Regions from separate parts of the Homo sapiens genome. Here all the other regions are linked to region 2. The links are contacts of gene promoters, found by promoter capture Hi-C in blood cells and fetal thymus (Javierre and others, 2016). All regions are on one chromosome and are shown on one strand. The core of a region is centred on a gene start or on the middle of the fragment in contact, and the rest is flanking DNA. Distances in the headings are between cores, read along the strand shown. Region 1 holds the start of MTMR4 (myotubularin related protein 4). Region 2 holds the start of AKAP1 (A-kinase anchoring protein 1). Region 3 overlaps DYNLL2 (dynein light chain LC8-type 2).

The links. Contacts are between HindIII fragments. The CHiCAGO score rates a contact against its expected background, and 5 or more counts as called.
Region 1: a fragment that was not itself captured here is called in contact with the fragment with the promoter of AKAP1 in region 2 in 1 of 17 cell types (non-activated CD4 T cells); the score reaches 5.4 in non-activated CD4 T cells.
Region 3: a contact is called between a fragment that was not itself captured here and the fragment with the promoter of AKAP1 in region 2, in 2 of 17 cell types (monocytes and fetal thymus). The highest score is 6.3, in monocytes.

Annotation. Positions count from the first base shown.
Region 1 is chr17:58,513,206-58,517,510 of GRCh38, reverse strand. It overlaps MTMR4 (myotubularin related protein 4), which reads left to right and starts at 2,873. Exons shown (of 18, transcript NM_001378067.1): 1 at 2,873-3,148. The coding sequence starts at 3,104. RefSeq lists a silencer at 2,690-3,149 and an enhancer at 4,010-4,069. The HindIII fragment of the contact is 2,193 bases long and covers 1,934-4,126 here.
Region 2 is chr17:57,083,996-57,088,317 of GRCh38, reverse strand. AKAP1 (A-kinase anchoring protein 1) reads right to left here and starts at 3,072. Exons shown (of 11, transcript NM_003488.4): 1 at 2,920-3,072. It overlaps AKAP1-DT (AKAP1 divergent transcript), which reads left to right and starts at 3,280. Exons shown (of 3, transcript NR_186437.1): 1 at 3,280-3,478. RefSeq lists silencers at 2,026-2,115, 2,396-2,695, 2,736-3,315 and enhancers at 1,994-2,496, 3,536-3,615. The HindIII fragment of the contact is 3,215 bases long and covers 1,488-4,322 here.
Region 3 is chr17:58,088,722-58,092,899 of GRCh38, reverse strand. It overlaps DYNLL2 (dynein light chain LC8-type 2), which reads right to left. Exons shown (of 3, transcript NM_080677.3): 3 at 1-3,758. The coding sequence ends at 3,621. Among named protein-coding and RNA genes, the nearest start is that of DYNLL2, 7.4 kb to the right of the region's middle. The HindIII fragment of the contact is 8,795 bases long and covers 1-4,178 here.

The DNA.
Region 1 (4,305 bases), core at 1,781-4,280, 1.4 Mb before region 2:
GCTTGCCTCTTGCCGGTTCCCCCATGAGGGAGAATGGCCTAGGGAAGAGGATACTGTGAACAGGGAGGTGGGCAGTACCACAGATGGAGGCTTTTATCCCCGCAGCCTCCCGCAGGGCTCTGCTGCACTGCCTGAGGAAAGCAGGCATGAAGGAAAGTGTCAGTGAAACCTAGGCCTGGCTCCCTAAGTGAGCCTAGGAGGCCCTATCCTGAAATCCCTGTTACTTGGGCTCATTGGACAGATGCTGACTCCAAGGCCTGGATTGGCCTGATTCTGTCCCTGTTGTGTGGCCTCCTCTCCATAACCTCCACCCCACTTGGTGTCAAATACACTCAGGAGGACCTGTGCAGCCCTGCTGCCCTCTGATCACAGGTTGTGGTCCCCTCCCTCTTGTCCCACTCTGGACTCTGCCCCCAGTAAACAGGTCAGGTGGGTACTACTCCCAGACTCAGAGACTGGCAAAACATTCCTGTGGATTCATGCTCCTTCAACTACTGCCACTTCACCCCAAGAGTCAGGGCCTAAAATGAGCCCCAGTTGGGCAGCCTGTGTCTCTTCATAGTTGGCAGTTCTGCTCCCTGAGAAAGAAGTGTTCTCCCTCTGCGTCTGGAAATCAGGACTCCTGAATTCTGCTGAATAATCTTGGATGACACTCATTCCTGTTTCAGAACTTCGTGGCTGACTTCATGCCCTGCAGGATCACTTGTTGCTTTCTCCTCATGTAGCTCCCATTGCCTCTCTCTGGCATGGTGACTTGTGGAGAGACTGGAGTCTCTGTGAGGGAGAAGAATAAGAGTTGTAGAGAAGGTCAGGGGTAGATGTGTGTCATTTGTTGATTCTATGGTAATGTTAATGGGGTCCTTTACTTTTATGTTCCTCTGTCTCCTTACAGTGAGAAGCAGGCAGCCAGTACCCTTGCCACGGTAGAATGGTGAGTACCCTGTCTTTCCTCAGGCCATTGTGTTTTCTGTAATCCATGTGTCTTTCTCTGTGAAGCTGCCCCACCTGTCCTAGACCTTGAGCTCCAGGCTACCCTGTTCAGCTCCTAAACATGTTCATCTGCCCTGGAGATAAATTAGGGTTTCTTTAGATTGCAAAACATCAGCCAGTATACAGCACTGGGACTGGAAGCTTCTAGAAATCATTTTCTGCATGTGCTAGGCCCCACACTTTCCTCCTACTCCCTACCCACCACTGGTTCTATTAACCCTTCATAACAGCCCTCTTCTTGCTTTTCTTGGGTCCCCGGTAGAATCTCTGTGTTCTGGTCTGAAAAGCTGGGCCTTCTTTATCTCAAGATCTTTGGACTTCTGGTGGGTCCTTTGAATATTGTGGATGCTATATCAGGAGTGACTCCACCAAAACTGTGGGGCTTCTCTAGTTCCAGGGTGCTGCTGTTAAGCCACTACAGGTGACAGCTGATTGAATATCTATCAGGATAGCATCTTCAGGGTGCCCAGAATATCACCAGAGGTGGTTTACAATGATCCTATTAATTTTCCATTAACTGTAACAGCCCTTCTCTCACCCCAAGTCCAGGGAAGCCCTTAACTCCTAAGAGCTAGGAGGAGGCAGTGAGATGGGAAAGGCCTAGAGAGCTGTAGGCCCTGGCCCAGACCAGGCCCTTAACCTGGTAGTATCTCTTCGGTGTCTTTTAGGTGTCCCTTGTGCTTAGGGGCAGGTTAAAGAATTCAGTAGATGAGAGGATTTCCTCCTTCCCTCCCTTCCTTCCATAGACATGTGGATTTGGTGTGTGCACTATTGGTTCAGTCTCTTCTCAGAAAGCCTGCTGGTTTTGGCCCCCACCAACAGATAGCTCCTCTTTTTCTCTTCTGGGCTACCCTGAAAAGAGCATGGGCTTCACAGTCAGCTTCATCTAATTTCAAATCCTAGCACCACCACTTAGTTAAATTACATACTTTCTCTCTAAGCTTGAGTCTCACGAGTAAGACAGGATAAGGTTTACTTCTTGGGGCTTGAAAAGTTTTACTGAGATAATGTTAGAAACTGCCTGGCTCATTGTAGATGCTTAATAAAATGTCAGGTTTTCTTTTATTACTCCCTTCTCCCCCAAACAAGACAAAAGCCCTGGTGTCTGAAAGTTACAAGGTGCAGGAAGTTTGGGGTTCCAGCCACCTCCCTCTGTGACTCTTGGTGACATTTTGAGCCCCTTATTCCTGGTCCTTATTCCTTGGCCCTCTACCCAACTCTCTCTACTCCGCTGCTCCTGGGTTTCAAGTTTCGTTTTTTTGTATAGCTTCTGTGGTCGATACTTCTAGCTCTTCACTTTCCCAGACTAAGAAATCCTTTCTCCTCCAAGAAGGGCTTTCTTACCCAGAGATCAGAATGTGAAACAAGGGAGAGATGGAGCTGAAGGAGTAGGGTTGGGTAGGGGCGTTGGAATAAAAAGCTCATTTCCCTTTCCAGGAGCGTGGAATGACTAACCTGGCACCATTCTAAGGGGAAAGAAAGGTTTAACGAAGTCACGGGATTGAAGGACCCTGATGGGCAGGGGCATGGTGGGTAGTGGTTTTGGAGGGAAAGGAGGAAGCAAATGGGGTGCGGGTAGGTGAGCTCCACCTTGGGATCCAGAGCAGGCGTCGGGGGAACTTAGGGGAGGGGGCGCGGGGATGGGTTTGTAAGAGGGCATGGGGTGGCTCACCTTAGAAGAAGGGAAATGAGAAGATGTGGGCGGTCCCGTAGCCCAGATTCCTGAAAGCTCCTAAAGGTCCCTGGAGTAGGGTACGCCCTCCTACGAGGCCCAGGGTCCGCGGGGAGGGAGGAGGCTGGGCTTGTGGGCGGGGCCCGCGGAGCCGCCCCGCCTCTACCTCCGCCTTCCCGCCGCGGTCCCGGGCTCTCCCCTCGCCTGGCTCCCCTCCCTTCTGCACTCGTGCGGGAGGGCGGAGCTGGGCCCGCTCCATTGTGGAGAGGAGGGGAGAGGCGCGCGGGAGCCGCGCGGAGGCCCGGCCACCAGCGCCCTAGCCTCTTGGCCGCCGCGGCTGCACCTGGCGAGCCCCGCAGCCGGGATGCGGCGGGCGCCCGGGGCTGGCGGGCAGCGCAGCGGCTCCGGGGACATGTGCGCTGGCCCAGACCGCCCGCGACCATGAGCCTGACCGCCCGCGTCTCCTGCTCCATGCTTAGCTGCTTCGTAAGTGCCCACCCTGCCTTTGGGGGCCTAGGAGGCACCCGCAGCCCCGCCCAGGGTCAGCCCTCGATTTCAGCCCATCCCCCTTCCCGAGGCCCCTGGCCCGGCCCCGAACGTTTGGGGGGCAGGGAAGGTGGGTTAACCCTTTTATTTCTTGGACTTGCTTCAATCTTTGGGTGCCGGAGATGGTCGAAGGCCAGGAATGGAAATTCTGTGGTCCATCCTGGCCCCGCAGCCACTGCCCTTGACTGCAGATCTCTAGGCCCCGCCCTGCAGGGGTACATCCCTTTACCTCCGCCTCTCCCTCTTGGTCCCACCCGCTGAATCCTTGCTTGGGGATGTGGGATGTGGCTAGTAGGCTGAATGGGATGTTAGGAGGTTGGTCGGGGAGCACGGGATGTCTTTGAGCTGGCTTGGGGCTCCAGTCCCTTCCCTCTTCCACCATTCCATCCCTCACCTGGCATGCCAGCCTTTTCTCCTTGACTGTCCCCCAGACAGCCTCTCTTCTCCATCTTCCCTGCCTCTGCAGGGTTCCGTACCTCTGCATCATTCCCGGTCCTCCCCTCCTCCCGCTCTGGCTGATGCTCCTTCCCAGCTTCCCCCATCTGTCCTCTCAGCTGTCCCCCCACCTTCCCCGTGGGTGTCTGCCGGGCCTCCTCTCTCTCTCTCCCCTGGCTGTCCTTGGGTCTCCTGGCTCCTCCCAGGCGCGTGGATCCCCCCGGGTCCCCTCCCTGGTGGTTGGGAGGGGAGTTCCTTTTGCTTGCTGTGGGTATTCCTCAGGAATTCCCCTCTGATTAGCAGGCAGAGCAGGTTACTTGGCAGGTAATGGGGGCTTGTCAGCAATGTGGGTCTAACAAGAAGATAAGCCCAGCTCTCAAACACGTCTTCCTTTTGAAAGCGTCGGTGAAGGCCCTCTAGAGGCGTGGGACTGAATCCCCCCACCCACTCCTCTTTGTCTCCTTCACCCACCAGATTGAAGCTTCAGTGGCTTGTAGGCGCCTGATTTCCCTTCTCTCTGAAACCAGCTGCCATACCTGGCTCCTTTTCCTCAGGACAGCACTTTCCCATCCCCACTCCTGCCTTACCCTTATGCGGGTCTAAGGGAAAGAGTCTTTCTTTTCCTTAGTTTTCTCTCCTCCATTTTTGAAATGTTGGTTCTA
Region 2 (4,322 bases), core at 1,823-4,322:
TTTTCCACAGCCCAAGCTTCAAATTAGGTACCAAGGCCAGGAGGTTCCTTCAGTGGGATGCCACATGTGATGGGAACTTAATGTTAAATGATCATAAAAGTGAAAACTGCCTGAGGTATTACACCAGGAAGGAACATGGAAGAAACAGAACTTGCCCTAAGAAGCAAGATTTAGGACTAAAATACACCCCCCACCATAAAGATGAGCAACTCTCAAACAGTATATGAGATGATTTCAATGGGACAAGATGCCCACAGGATCTACTACCTCCCCATAGTGGAAGAAAACGCCTGAGAATGACAAGCTGAAGGTATTAACTCATACCTGAAACAACTGACTTCCCCACAATAGGAAAACAGACCAAGCTACAGAAAGGCCCAATCATTCAGACTCACAGGGAAGATTAGGAAGGAGTGACCTAGGGGAACTCTACGGCCAGCTCTCTGGGTACATTGGCTACAAGCTGCCTGCTCTTCAAAGCCCTGAAATGCACACACAATCAAGTCATGTTGCAGGCTGGGAGCAGGAGGCTAGCCAGCAAAGCTTAGGGAAACCAATTCGTTTTTCCTCCCAAACAAGCTTCTGGGTCAGAGGCTAAGGAGAGGGGTGCTTTTAATAGAATTCAAGTCACTCAAGTAATTCAAGAGAAACAAAGTCAGTCTCAGGGATTGTTCAGGGAGGAGAGGGGAAGAGCAATGCTTAAGCACCTATCACAGTCCCCAGTATCACAAATATGATCTCCATTTGTCTTTAGGACAGGAAAAGGGAATACTGTAGAGGCTAACACCAGCCTTCCCCTAAAATATGGCTGCAACCCAGCCTATGTCCAAAGCTCAAGAATAATTTGGGTTACCAGGCAGCAAGATAAATTGCTTTTAAATATTGATGTTCAGCAACCTTACACTGGAGACATATCGACTTCAGCACCTGAGCAGGCCACTTACAACAGACACCTCCACTGTCACCCTGCAGTGGCCAAGTGAGAATGCATTTCCTAGAAACAACTGGGAGATGGGAGAGATATTCCTACAAGGAACTAGACCTAGACACAAATCCATTAGACCTGTCTCACTCATTGGCTAGGATCTGTTACCTGCAAGTTCTGAGCCATCATCTGACAACATGCATGAAGACAGAGCCTATTAATCCAGTAATGGACTCAAGCTTTAGTGATTTGCATGCCTGTAGGATCCAGAGGACCTCCTCTAACCTAGGGCCATATTTCAAAGAGAATACACCCAAGAATTATGCAGAACCTACAAAACTAGTTAGAGGTTAAAGAAAAGTTCAACACAAGTCAAAAGGTTCCCAAAACATAACTTCACTTGCTTCCAGTGCTCAGGGTCTTAAATAATCAGCAGGTGAACCACTTCAATGCCAAGATCAGAGGAATTATATAAATGATCAAGTCAGGCAGCCTTCTTCATTTCAAAGATGTTCTGTACCTTTAAGAGCAAAGTGGATGGGTGGTGCTAAGAGTCCAAGCTTTGCTTTCTAAATAAAGAGTTAAAAAAAAAAAAGGTACTAATTTGGGAAGGACTTAGCAGTTACAAGAGCTTGTAAGGCTACTAGTTGCCAGAATTAATAGCTTTTTGTGAACGGTGTTCCTTGATCAGTAACTAACAGATACTGTTGCACCAGGTCCAGCAGCCTAGATTTCACTGGAGACAAATCTAAACACGAAGTAACGCGCACTACAGTAGGGGAAAGATACCCAGGTTAACCTCACTAATTGCCCTGCGCATACACCCTACCCAGCTTGAGAGGCCTCGACTCGCACCTGGAGCGAAGTCCACCGGGTTTGTGTTAACGGCGGCAGGAAGGCGCCGCCACCCAGGACATCCCCCAGGAGAGGAAGATCCCGAAACGCCCAGGGCTCCCATGCCGTTCCGAGTCGCCACAGCACCGCCTACCACGATCAGCACCTTTCTTCTCCTATCCCTCCCTGGAAGGGAAACAGGAAGACCTTCAGCTAGGGCACAAAAGAGTTGAACGCCAGAAAGCCCGCGTTCGAGGCATCCAGCCACTGCCTCTCCTAGCACATCGTAACCCCAAAACTGGCGCGGTCCCTCCAGATCGCAGACCCCGGGCCCTGGGCCGCAGGCGGGGCCGGACACGTGACCGTCGGGGCCCCCGGGCGTGAGGTCGGCAGACACCCCAGGCTGGACGGCCTCCACCCCTCCGGACACGCCTGCAGGGGCTACGAATGCAAATTCCCCCCGAGACGCCCCTGAGCCTCCGACCTCCAGACCCCAATTCGGTTCGAACGGTCCCTCAGCCCGAAACACGGTTGGATCACAACCGGCCGATGTCCCGGCCCATCTTCCCAGTTCCCCTGGCTCGCCGCACGGAACTCCCAGGGGCTGCGCCGGCGGGCGAGCCGAGGGTGAGAAGTTGGGCGAGGCTCCAGAAGTGAAGGGGCAGCTCCGGCTCAGACTGTGTACACACGACCTTTGAAAAGTAAACGCCCGCGGGGCTGGGCGACCTTGGGTGGGACGCGCTCGGGTCAGCCTCGCAGGCGGGTGTGCACGCTCCGGTTAAGTTGAGGTGCAGAGAGGCGACCCGGGCGTCGCGCCCTCGCCCCCCGCCCCCGAGGACAGTGACGCGCGTGGGGAGGACGGCGCGGCCGCAGAGCGCCGCCCAGAGCCGCGCACACGCGATCTGTCAGGAGCCCGCGGGCAGACAACCGGCGGGGAAGGACGAGAGGGGGCGCAGACGAGGGAGGGAAAGATGGGCCTGCCTGACAGCGCGCGGCGGCCGAGAGCCCCCAGGACACCTCTGCGTCCGGAGCGTCCCGCCCCCGGGGTACCTGGAGGGCGCGTCGCACCCTGCACCTGCACCTCAGGCTCCCCATCGCCCCGACCCCGCCGCCTTCGGGTCTCCGGCAGGGGGTCCCCGGCGCAGCTGCCCCCGACCTACCAGCTCCTCGGCTACCATCGGGGTGCGGGATGCGGAGTCCGCGCGCCGCCGCCGGCCCCCGGCTGTGCCCCGCGGCCCGGCCCGCAGCGCCGCGCTTCCGCAGCTCCCCCACGTGCTAGCCCAGGCGGGTGGAACACAGAGACATTAAATACTGAAGACGCGCGGCGACGTGCCCGCAGCGCGACGCAGGCCCCGCCCCTCGCCCTTGTGCCCGCGCGCTCCCGAGCCCGCCCCGCTCACCTGCGCGTGCGCGCCGCCGGCCGCTCCCGGCAGTGCCTCCGCCGCGCCTCTCCCAGCTGCGCCAGAGGGGGCGCGGTCTACAGCGCTGGGCTAACATCCCGCCGCCGCCCGGAGCCGGGTCTTGCTCGCGCTCTCGCGAGAGAGCCGTCATCTCTCCGGTGCCCGGGAGAGGGGCCGGGCGGGACGGTACAGCAACCGGAGGAACCTTGATTCCCTGCCCCGCAAGCCCAGCACCGGTTTTGCCGCCTTGTCTCGAAGGGTCAACCAGGCCATCTCCTGCCTCGGGACGGAGAGCGCCCTGGAAAAGGCGGAGGGGCCGGTGAGGAGCAGGGCTTCCCTCGCTTCGGGGCTTTGAGCTTCCCTGTGACCGTCATTTCCTTGTAGCGTATAATTGGGTTGGCCATTAATAATTGCTCGATAACTGCATAATGGTGAAACCTGGTACCACTCAAATGCAACTTTCTTGCTCGTTTTCACAAGTCGATGTTATCGAAATGAAGCACTTTTCTCTGAATTGGTGTGGGTTTTGGAATGATTTTTGCAGAGATAGTCACGGTGAGTCACTATCTCTGCCAGGACCTTGGGAAAATAAATTCCTCCAAAATAAATGGAGAGGGTAGGGTTTTGGCTGTCCAGCCCTGCTGTCATCCTTAAAACAAAGTGACTTTAAATGAACATTTGTTTGGCCAAAATATAGAAAATAGATCATGCTAAGAACTAACAATTACTTGGGAAAATGCTTAATCTTCACTAGTGATCAAATGCAAGTTTAAATGACAGATGCCATTTACTATACCTAATGAGATTTAAGTCAAATTCATATATATATGAATCCCAATTGCATGGTGTGGTAGATGTCAGGAAGGAAACAAATAGGAAACTGACATAGGAAAGAAAGAAAAAGAGCCCTATTTTTTATTTTTTTTTTTTTGTGAGACGGAGTCTTGCTCTGTCGCCCAGGCTGGAGTGCAGTGGCACGATCTCGGCTCACTGCAAGCTCCGCCTCCCAGGTTCACGCCATTCTCCTGCCTCAGCCTCCCGAGTAGCTGGGACTACAGGCGCCTGCCACCACGCCCGGCTAATTTTTTGTATTTTTAGTAGAGATGGGGTTTCACCGTGTTAGCTAGGATGGTTTCGATCTCCTGACGTCGTGATCCGCCCGC
Region 3 (4,178 bases), core at 328-2,827, 1.0 Mb before region 2:
AAAGGATGTTTGAGCAAAGACTGAAAGGAGGTGAGAGAATAATTTAGCGGGGAACCACACCTTAAATCTAGTCTGGAGGACACTAGAGTTCAGGGAACAGAGATCGACAGTGCCACAGCAACAAAGAAGATTCCCTACCATGCTGGTTATTATCCATTTGCCTCCCTTAGATTGTCACCACCTTGCCCTTTCCTGCTGTTCCCAGTGGGGAGGGGGACTGAACCCTACAGACTGCATCCTGGGTCTGCCTTGTCATCTGCCATTTGGTTGGGTTCAGTCAAAGGGGGTCCCCAGAAGACTGGAGAACAGGATACAAGGAGCAGGGATATTGATGCTCCTATGGGCACAGTTCTAATAATGGCTGCATTGTTCCGAGAGAATTCCACAATTTCCATCTGCTTTCCACAGTCCCTTCAGTGACACATGCTCACATACTTTCCCATCCTGGGCCCCGAAAAGTGGAGGCTCATCTCCTCCAGGAAGCCCTGCAGGATTAGTCTTCCAGATGAGCACTGTGCACCTACCTGTGCAGGAATGTGTTGTTCACAGATGCCACCTGGACTGCCTCTTTCATCAGGGAAGAAAGTAGATGAGCTTTGGCCCTGGAGACACTCATCCCTGATGAAATGTGAACTGTGGCCTCACTCTCCCTCCCAAAGCTCCAGCTCTGTCAAATTACTCACGACAGCTAAAGCAGTAACAGAAGTTGGGGCTCTAGAGTCTCTCAACTTAATCCCTTAGGACCTCACTGCCCCAGAGGTAGAACTTCTCCCCAAGATCAGCCAACCACCTTCCTAACTGGAGGAACCCTATCTACCTACCTCCAACACTCAATAGCTCATTGCCCAGTTCATTTCCTTGATAACACATTTATCACTATTGGAAAAAGTTGATCAGTGTGTGTATGTCTGCTCTACACATAAGAATGTGTATGTCATAGAAGCCTAGAACTTACTTGTCTCATTCTCCTCTGTGAACAGCATCCTAGGCCCAAGCATACAAGAACTCTTAAATATTTTTGAGTAAAGAAATAGTAACACAAAGAGGGCAAAGCACCTCTGGCTCCCTAACACCTCCAAGAGAATTGCAGTCACACGATGGTGGAGTCAGGGGTGGGCAGACACTCTCAGAAGTCTTGGCACTGCTGATTTCTCGAGTTGTGTGTCTGGGCAACAGAGGATTCAGAGAATCACTTAGGTTCCACCAAAAGAGGTGCCATCTTTCTAAATATCCCCAGCTTTCCATTTCTGAGTGGCCAGACCCTTTGCTAAATAGTCTCCAGGTTCAGGAAAGCCGAGAAGGGAGGAGTATGAAAGATAAGAGCTTTGGGCAAAAGTTGAAGCAGCAAAGCTCAGGCAGGTCCATGACGGCAGCTGGGAAGGTAGCAGTTACTATCCCAAAGACACAAAATATGATTCACCTGGCCATCACCACCAAGGAAGGCAGAACCCAGGAGCCCTTAAGGGTGAGTGCTGCTGGTTAGTTTTCCTCTACTTAAGGGGCATAAGCCTAGGCACAAATAAGTGCTGCTACAGGCCAATCAGTATCTAGTGGCTGGTCTTCCCTTCAGTCCCCATTCTATTCCACCCTGGAGACTCTCCACCCTCACCCACTGTGTGGCACCACTGCCACCATGCCAACCCCTCATCCCCAAAGAGACCCAAACAGTGCAGAGGTGCATCAATCAACCTTTAATGTCCAAAAGAGGCGTGGATGCAGAGCATAGGAGATGTGGCAGGGTCTCAGGCCCTGCTCCAGAAATGAGGGAGAGATGAACACAAACCAGACACTTTCAACTGGCCACACAGTCTGGGAGGGCAGGGGGAAACACAGATTTGGACATTCATAAAAAAATAAAACCTAAAATCAAGCACTCAATTTTGTGCCCACTGAAGGGTTTGATAAAGGGAACTCAGTCACCACCCAGGTCTCCCCTCCCCTGCCAACATCACAAAGCAAGCTCGGCACACACTAAGGGCTTAGGGAGGGGTATTCTCCTGCCTCCCCACCAGCCCCAAGAATGGACTTGAAAATAAAAGAATAAGCTGGATCCCCCACCCCCCCACATTGTCAACCCTACACGAGAGTTTTGAAGGCGACTCATGAAAATCAGCAGCTCAAACGGCAATGACCACCCCACCCCAAACCCCACCCCACTCCTATTTCATTAACAGACAAGATTTCCCCTGCATCCTCCTCAGAATCTCCTCCTCTCACAGCCCTGCTCCATCTCCTATGTCCTGGCTTCACCACTGCAAGACTGACCTCCTCCAAGGCTCCCAGAAGCTCCTCTTAGCTCTTTATCACTTCTATCCTCACCTCCCACCAGAGACTGCAACCATCCACAGTCACTGTCCCTCTGCACTGAGACCCAGCTCCAGAGCAGATGGCAGCATGGTCATCCTGTCCTGGGTGGTCCTCCTAAAGCCTTCCCAGGGAGCAGACAGCCAGAGAGCAAGCAGAGTGTCTGGGCTAGATGACAGCAAGGAGGGGACACCTATCTTTATTTTCAAAACAGATATCCCCAGAGGCTTTTAGCATAAAAGCCCACTTAGAACTAACTGTGCCCCCTACCTACCCATACACCCTAGAGATTCCACACTGTCCTGCCCCCTCCCTCCCTTCTACCCCAAACCCCACACACACATACACACACATATACACACATATTCACACATATACACAGAAGAGTCAAGGGAGACATCAATTTGGTTTGATTGCTAAGACCTAACTAAGGAACTACAGTCACCAGAAATTCCCTTGCCAGCCAACTAACAACAGGGGCTGCTCTAAGAGAACTCCAGAGGAATGAGGAAACTGAGGGCTAAGCAGGGAGCAGACAGGAGAAAAATGTAAAGAAAAAAAAGATTCAAGCTAATCCTACCCCAGCATCCTCCTGTCATGATCTCTGGCAGGAAGAACAAAAGAAGGTAATCCACAAAGACACAGCCCTTACTTAGAAATTCTGACAAAGACAGCAAGACAAATCTGCTCCCCACTCCCACACACCACAGACAAACACATCTCAGGGCCCCTAAAGAAGGCATCCCCACCCCACCCTCCGCCCCAAGCCATAGAATCACAGTTCAGTGGAATATTCTCCCTGGTACTAGATCAATCCCTCCACCTTCCTTCCTACCCCTTTTTCCTTGACAATCCCAACACTGTCCCCCTGCAGCCTCCCTGGCCCTCCCAAAGCAGCATCCACCGCCAGGAAGAGGCAGCTGCACAGTTTTAGTTCCACCTCCAGAGACCTATTTCTTTTCCTCAGCCCTCCTAGTCTTTCGGCCGCCTAGTCTCTATGGTGGGCCTTTTATTTTGTATAGGGAAAGAAAGAGAAAAGGGAGAGGTGGGAGAGATTTCCTAGTGCAATACAACCAAAAAATATTTTTAAAGTCTTGAAAAATAAACATAAAGCAGCCTTCTTCCCCCAGGCAACTAAACAGAAAGAGGTTTGGTTTTGTTTACTGCGACATACACATGAAATCGAGTATACAGTCCATGCAGTAGCACAGCCATTGGAGAGGACATCCTGATGCTGGCTCCAGTGCAAAACAGTCCCAGCAACGCCGCCTGCTTGCCATCGCTGCCGCCGCCACTGACACCTTCACCATGGCCACCTAGCCTGACTTGAAGAGGAGGATTGCAACTTGACCCAAGTAAAAATAGATGAAGTGCTTTGTCTCGTGTGTGACGTAGCTGCCAAAATTTCGGCCCACGATACAATGCCAGGTAGGGTTATATTTCTTGTCAAATTCCTAAAAAAGAACAAAGGTAGAGAAGAAAGGTAATTAGGGTAGCTGGAGAAGGAGAAATCAGAATGGGAGTCTCTCCCTGCAACTCCAGCACCGACACGTTTGGTTGTTATCACCCCCACCCCATCCCTCAGCCTCAGCTCCCCGAACCTCAAAAGCTCAGGTTTTAAAGCTGGCCAGGACACTCTTCCCCTCATTAATAATGGAACACCACAAAGCCTCCATTATTCGTCTCCCCTGAGCCTCCAGCACTCTACACCCTGATCATCTCTCCTCCCTCTAGCTACCCCACCCCCTCACGCCACCCCTAGCCCACCCTGGGATTCTTCAGCAAGGGAATCAAGAGGCCAGTGGAATAAAGGACCATTTGTCAAACACATGACACAAATGGGGAGCCACCACCCGCTGCCTCACACATAATTA